2 separate regions of the Homo sapiens genome follow, and region 1 is linked to region 2. The links are contacts of gene promoters, found by promoter capture Hi-C in blood cells and fetal thymus (Javierre and others, 2016). All regions are on one chromosome and are shown on one strand. Each heading gives the region's core, a stretch centred on a gene start or on the middle of the fragment in contact. The rest is flanking DNA. Distances are from core to core; before and after follow the strand shown. Region 1 has its middle 12 kb from the start of MIR4328. Region 2 holds the start of LPAR4 (lysophosphatidic acid receptor 4).

The links. The method cuts DNA at HindIII sites, captures the fragments that hold promoters and counts their contacts. A CHiCAGO score of 5 or more calls a contact.
Region 1: a contact is called between a fragment that was not itself captured here and the fragment with the promoter of LPAR4 in region 2, in 1 of 17 cell types (fetal thymus). The highest score is 5.6, in fetal thymus.

The regions. Positions count from the first base shown.
Region 1 is chrX:78,886,930-78,890,588 of GRCh38, reverse strand. No RefSeq gene overlaps it. Among named protein-coding and RNA genes, the nearest start is that of MIR4328, 12 kb to the left of the region's middle. The HindIII fragment of the contact is 700 bases long and covers 1,468-2,167 here.
Region 2 is chrX:78,745,793-78,749,282 of GRCh38, reverse strand. It overlaps LPAR4 (lysophosphatidic acid receptor 4), which reads right to left and starts at 1,563. Exons shown (of 5, transcript NM_001278000.3): 1 at 1,249-1,563. The HindIII fragment of the contact is 2,609 bases long and covers 124-2,732 here.

The DNA of each region.
Region 1 (3,659 bases), core at 568-3,067, 140 kb before region 2:
GTGGTTTTGATTTGCATTTTCCTGATGATTAGTGATATAAAGAACCTTTCCAAACACCTGTTGTCCATTTGTGTCTTTTTTGGAGAAATGTCTATTAAAGTCATTTGCCCATTTTTTCGTTGGGTTATTTGGGTTTTTATCATTGAGTTGTAGGAGTTTCTTATATGTGTTCCATATTAACCCCTAATTAGACAAAAGTTTTGCAAATATTTTATCCCATTTCATAGGTTGCCTTTTCCTTGTGTTAATGCAGGCATACCTTGGAGATATTGCAGAATTGGTTTCAGACAACCACAGTGTAGTGAGTATTGCAATAAAGTGAATCACAATAATTTTTTTTAATCTTTCAATACATATAAAAGTTAAGTTTCCATGACACTGTAGTCTGCTAGGTTTGCAATAGCATTTTGTCTAAAAAATGATGTATATATCTTAATGTAAAAATTATTTATTGCTAAAAATGGTTAATGATTATCTATGCCTTCAGCAAGTTGTAATATTTTTGCTGTTAAAGGTTCTTGACTTAATGTTGATGGCTACCGACTGACCAGGGTAGTGGTTGCTAAAGGCCGAGGTGGCTGTTGCAATTTCTTAAAATAAGACAACAATGAAGTTTGCGGAATTAATTGACTATTTCTTTCACAAAGATTTCTCTGTAGCATGCAATGCTGTTTGATAGCATTTTACCCACAGTAGAACTTCTTTCAAAATTTGAGTCAATCCTCTCAAACCCTGCTGCTGCTTTATCAACTGAGTTTATGGAATATCCTCAAGCCTTTGTTGTCATTTAAACTATTGTCACAGCATCTTCACCAGGAGTACATTCTATCTCAAAAGAACACTTTCTTTGCTCATTCATAAGAAGCAACTCCTCATCCATTCAAGTTTTATTATGAGATTGCAGTAATTCAGGCCTATCTTCAGGCTCCACTTCTAATTCCAGTTCTCTTGGTATTTCCACCACATCTGCAGTTCCTTTTCCACTGAATTCTTGAACGCTTCAAAGTCATCCATGAGCATTAGAATTAACTTCTTTCAAAGCTCTGTTAATTTTGATAATTTTACCTTCTCCCATGAATCACAAATGTTTTTAATAGCACTTGGAATAGTGATTCTTTTTCTAGAAGGTTTTCTATTGACTTTGCCTGATCCATCCGAGGAATCATTGGATTTTGCAAGGCTATTACATCTATACCTTTACACAATGTAGTTCTTACATGATAAGACGTTAAAGTCATAATTACTCCTTGATGCATGGGCTGCAGAATAGATGTTGTGTTACCAGGCATGAAAACAGTATTAATCTTCTTGTACATCTCCATGAAAGCTCTTGGATCACTTAATGTATCATCAATACGCAGTAACATTGTGAAATAAATAGTTTTTATTTCTGAGAAGTAGTTCTCAAAAGTGGGGTTAAAATATTGAGTAAACTACTCTGTAAACAGACATGCTGTCATCCAAGCTTTGTTTTTCCATTGATAGAGCACAGGCAGAATAGATTTAGCAAAATTCTTAAGGACCCTGTGATTTTCAGAATTGTAAGTAGGCACTGGCTTCAACTTAGTCACCAGCTTCATTAGCTCCTAAAAAGAGTGTCAGCCTAGCCTATGAAGATTAAAAGCCAGGTGGTGACTTCTTCTCTTTAGCTATGAAAGTTCTACATGGCATCTTTTGCCAGTATAAGGCTGTTTCATCTACCTTGAACATTTGTTGTTTATTGTAGCTAACTTCACCCATTATCTTAAATATTGATGAAATATTATAGATAAATATTATCAATGACTTGCTTAAACTTCTACCTCAGCACTTACTGCTTCACCTTGTACTTTTATATTATGGCTCTTTAAACCTCATGAACCTGTGCTAGCTTCAAACTTTTACAGCTTTCTCACCTCTCTCAGTCTTCACAGGATTGAAGAGAATTAGGATCTTCCTCTGAATTAGGCTTTGCCTTAAGGGAATGTTATGGCTGGTTTGACCTATCCAGATCACTAAAACTTTCTTCATATCAGCAATAAGTTGTTTTACTTCCCTGATATTTGTGTGTTCAGTGGAGTAGCAATTTTAACATTCCTTAAGAAGTTTTCCTTTCCACTCACAATTAGGCTGTCTGACACAAGAGGACTTTTAGCCTCAGTTTTCAATATGCTTTCTTTACTAAGCTTAATTATTTATAGCTTTTTATTTAAAAAGAGAGACATACAACATTTCCCTTCACTTGAACATTTAGAGGTTTGTGTAGGATTATTAATTGGCCTAATTTCAGTATTGTTGCATCCCAAGGAGAGGGAGGAGAGCTGTTGAAATGGTCAGTCAGTGGAGCAGTCAGAACACATACAACATTTATCAATTAAGTTCACGTGTGCTATGCGGGTGCAGTTCATGGTGTCCCCAAACAATTAAAGTATTAACTTCAAAGATCACTGATCACAGATTACCATAATAGACAAAAAAAAATGAAAGAGTTTAATTATATAAAAATAATGAAAATGTAACAATTACCAAAAGGTAACACAAAGACATGAAGTGAGCACCTGCTGTTGGAAAAATGGTGCTGATAAACTTGCTGGTCACAGGACTGCCACAAACCTTCAATTTGGAAAAAAAAAAAAAAAAAGCAATATCTACAAGGCACAATTAAGCGAAGTGCAGTAAATTGAGGTATGTGCTTATAATACTGGATATAAATATGAGAAGACCCAAAGTCTTATAAACTTCCTTATTGCACCAAATTTTGCTCATTCAATGAAATTATGTTTCTATTTGTTAAAAAATGCATTTTTGATGCCTTGTTCTCATTTCCTTTGCTTGCTTCACCTTTTCCAACTGGTTCACACTTGCTCCCCCTTGCCAGTATATTTGGACTAACTACCATCCACTGTGGAAGAAGATAATTTGAAGAGACGTTATCGGTCAAATATACATACTCTACCAATATTAGTATCATCTTAAATTTCTCCATTAGACATTCGTTTATTTGGAACTTAAAAAGGCTATTGATTTTTTTTTGAAACTCTGAAAGTATCTGAAATTATTTCTCTCTAAGAGCCAGACACTAAGTGAGACTGCCTCTAAGTAGAAATGGTATCTGGGAAAAATGGGAGAGGTGAGTCATGAAAAGAAAAATATTTCTGAGAGAAAAAGGCAAGCAAATATTCAACAGTCTCAGATATAATTCATCCAGGTGTATCCTCACTCTTCCGTAAACATACTTGCTCATGGTTTTTATTTTCTTAAAATGACTCTTTTTTTTTTTTTTCTGGGTCAGAGTTCACTCTTGTTGCCCAGGCTGGAGTGCAATGGCACGATCTCGGCTCACTACAACCTCCGCCTCCCAGGTTCAAGGGATTCTCCTGCCTCAGCCTCCCAAGTAGCTAGGATTACAGGCATGCACCACCACGCCTGGCCAATTTTGTATTTTTAGTAGAAACAGGGTTTCTTCAGGTTGGTCAGGCTGGTCTTGAACTCCCGACCTCAGGTGATCCACCCGCCTTGGCCTCCCAAAGTGCTGGGATTACAGGTGTGAGCCACCGCGCCTGCCCTCCCCCCACCTTTTTTTCAGTATTTTAATACAAAAGTGTATTTCTTACTCATGCAACAGTCCAACAGAATGTTTTTTATTAAGTGACATTTCTAAGCAGTTCATCTTTTAGTAA
Region 2 (3,490 bases), core at 314-2,813:
ATGACCATATACACAGACAAAAGGTAGCTACACAATTAGGCGCTGAACAAACCACAGCAAGGGCAACAATTCTCACTGCATTTTCCCAAAAGGCAATTGAATAGATCAAGCTTTAGCTAAGCTTGGCCTGAATGTTTCTGTGAGGCATCTTCCTGGTTCTCCCTTTAACTTGCAGAGAGCACACATTCTGAAAGACTGGCCTGATTGTTCCAATAAGGCTTTCATTCCCATCTCTGATTGGCAGGAGAGACTTTAGAATGTAGATGCCATCAAGTTTATCAGGTGAACTCATCCTTCTTGGCAAGAGTGCAACTTTTCATCTGTGACAAGGCAAAAGGTTTTATAATCTATGTTGATGGGATATGATGTTGGGAATTTTGTTCTGAAAAATAAACGTGTTGCAAAGCCATTGGGTAATCTGGATCTCAGGTTATTATTATTGTCTTTATGTTAGTCAAGATAAAGAAAGATGGTATAATTTTGTAAGGTAGCAAAGTGAATAACCCCACCAAGCTCTGAAATATTCTAACCTTTGAATTTGTCTGGTCTTTTCCACACTGAAATAATGATAAATTACATTGCTGAATTTCCTTTTAAAAGGTAACTGAAATACTGTATTTAGCAACTCAATAAGACCTTTTTACTGAAAATATTTAAAATTTACAAGAAGAGAGTTTAAAGATGACACATTGATGCATTTGTATGGCAAACAGCAATTAATTTCACATATAATTGCAAATTCAGTTTATGACAGAGTTTTTCATTCAAACATGATTCTTCCTTTATGGGCAAGTTCATGAATTATTCAATATAGCAAATGTCACATTCTCCATAAATCAATTAAGCATCAAAGACATGTCATGTATAGTTTTACTAGAAGAAACCTCATCATAATACAAGCCACGTTAGCGCACAATAAACTGTAAACCAAAGAAATACAAAGCTAGTCGACATACTTTCTAAATTGTTCTACACTGTGATTTTAAATTAGCTCTTTAGAACAACTGTGTTTACATGAAACAGCAGCCTGAAAATCCTGTATGTCTTCCACGGAAACAATATTATTGCCAAAACAATGGAAATTCTCGTTTTTTACCATTCATCACGAAGATCCTTGTTCAGTACTTCAGAGTTGAAGTCTAACTTCTTTCCTTACACTCTCAAAGCATCAGTGTTTCCACTGTAGTTTGTTATGCTATCCCCCACCCCCAAACGCCAAAATCAAATCTTTTTAAAAGAGAAACTTACCCCAAGAAAGAGTGTGCTAGATGAGAGAATGTGCTGATGCCTGTAGATAATTAGCTAATAAACATGTAAATGGGCAACTCGCCCTTTGGAAGTGCATATTTTTATCCATTTTTTTTTTTTTTTTTTTTTTTTTTTTTTTACAGGGAAAGGTTAGCCCAGCCTAAAGTAGCAGACTCTGGGCTGCCGCAGCTTTTTACTGCAAACCGCTCATTCTGTAAATGTGAGCTTATTTACATTTATCTCTTTCCCTTTGTTAACGACTCCCTCTCTTGAATGCTGTAGCCCGCATGCCTTTAGCAAACAGGACACAAAAAGGCCTGAAGTCCGAGCTGGAGCCGACGGCCAGGGGAACTCTTGGGGGTCTCAATAGGAAATGCTTTTCATTGGCTAAGGAGGCATTATTAGGAGTCTAGATCCCGCCCAATTCCCTGTGCTCCATCGTTCCCTTAGTCACCAGTCACTGGACTGAATAAGTTTTTCCTTAAAGAGCATTGCCCAGGAAAAGCAGTTTCACAGTCAAGAATTAATGGCTTAAGTGCCACTTGACAATATAAAAAGTGTCTTTCCTGACCAATTAATCCACAGAGAAAGCCTGTGTGCCTGTCTTTGCCGCAGGACTGCAGAGGAGGAGACAACATTTCAAACAAGGAGGAGTGTTTCAATTATGCATACCATGTTCGCTCCTACTTGTTTAAAATAATTACAACAATATTGATAATAATAAGTAGGGGGCAAGGAAAAGGCAAAAATGAAAGGTACCATAAAAATATTCCTATCACACTGTGCAAAATTCAATCTCCCACCATCACAAAAATATAAAGTAAATTTTAATACTACACTCACTTAAGCCAGATAAGTGCCCTCAGATAGAGATGTACTAGGGTCCCAGAGCTCTGACACCCACCTTCCAAGGACTAGGGAGTGTTCTGTAGCAAAAGGAGGGTCTACACTTCTCAAGTAACTGCCTCGCAGTAAGTCTAATTACCATGAAAATTTCAGAGATTTGCTAAAATACAAAATAAATAGCACAGATGCAATCTATTTACAATAGAGAGTTATCTGCAACTGTATACCTCCGCCCACCTCCCCCATGGCAAGATTTTCTTTTCTAATTATCTACAGGTTTACTGCCTTGGTCACTCACAATTCTTTTTTTTTTTCCTCCCTATATTTTCCTCTTCACCTCCCTCTCCTTGATCTGATTTTGTGGCAGAAACCCACTCATCCATCTGTAACTTCATTGTTGGCCCTTCCCCTCTGCCAGCCCACCCCTGCAAGCCTTCTCTACTCTATCTCCACCCACTGCAAAAGCCACCAACAGCAGCCCCTCCCCCTCCTCTGGAATGAAATTCTCTGCCCAGGGATAAGGTGCTTTCTTTCTCTTGGCAGAGCAGAGCCCCTGGAGTCTTGGAGGATCCTCTATTTGCTTCAGAACTTCAGTTTGTGTAATTAAGCTGCCTCCCAAGTAGGGCATGTTTCAAGCTTGTTTATTCTCCCTATTTGTTCAGCTCTATTGTGGCTCTTCTCACTATCAGTGGAGGCCAGTAAACAAGTTAGTGTGAAGCTGACACTAGCCTTATTACTTGTAACTGGCTCTAAAAAAACACTTTCTCTGTTGCTTCCTCTTCTCCATCCCACCGCCCATCTCTGTTCTTTTTATTCCCCTCTCTGCTTATCTCAAATATGTCTATTTCTGTCAGTTGCTGACATTGTCTGTGTCTTTATAAATGGTCTTTTACCAACTCTCATCCTAGACCAGTACTCGGTGCATTTGTCAGTCCACAGGCGAAAGATACAGTCTCTACCCTGCAGTATGCCAGAGTCTAGGTAGGGACACAAAGACACATGAAAAAAGTGGGATACCAAAGGTAAATTTTGAAAAAAAAAATACCAAGGCAGTTATATGGAGATTGAGTTCTGTAATAGATCAGAGGATGGAGATGAAGTCCCATGGATAGGGCCAGGAGGGTTTCTTAGAAGAAGTGGGATTTGTGCCACATTTTGGTGGATGATTCAGTATTAAATAAACCAAGAATGGAAGGGGATATATTTCTAGGTGGGCAGAGCAAAGTGATCAAATGCAGAAGATGTAAAGTGAGAGTAGGTGAGAAGGAGACCAGTTTGTAAAGGGAAAATAAGGGTAAGGAGAAAAGCTTTTGAGAGGAGTACTTTACTGTAGCAACTCAATGCACTATAGTGATTGAAGGGTTAACCTATAGTCATGATCACTGTCTGTCTATAT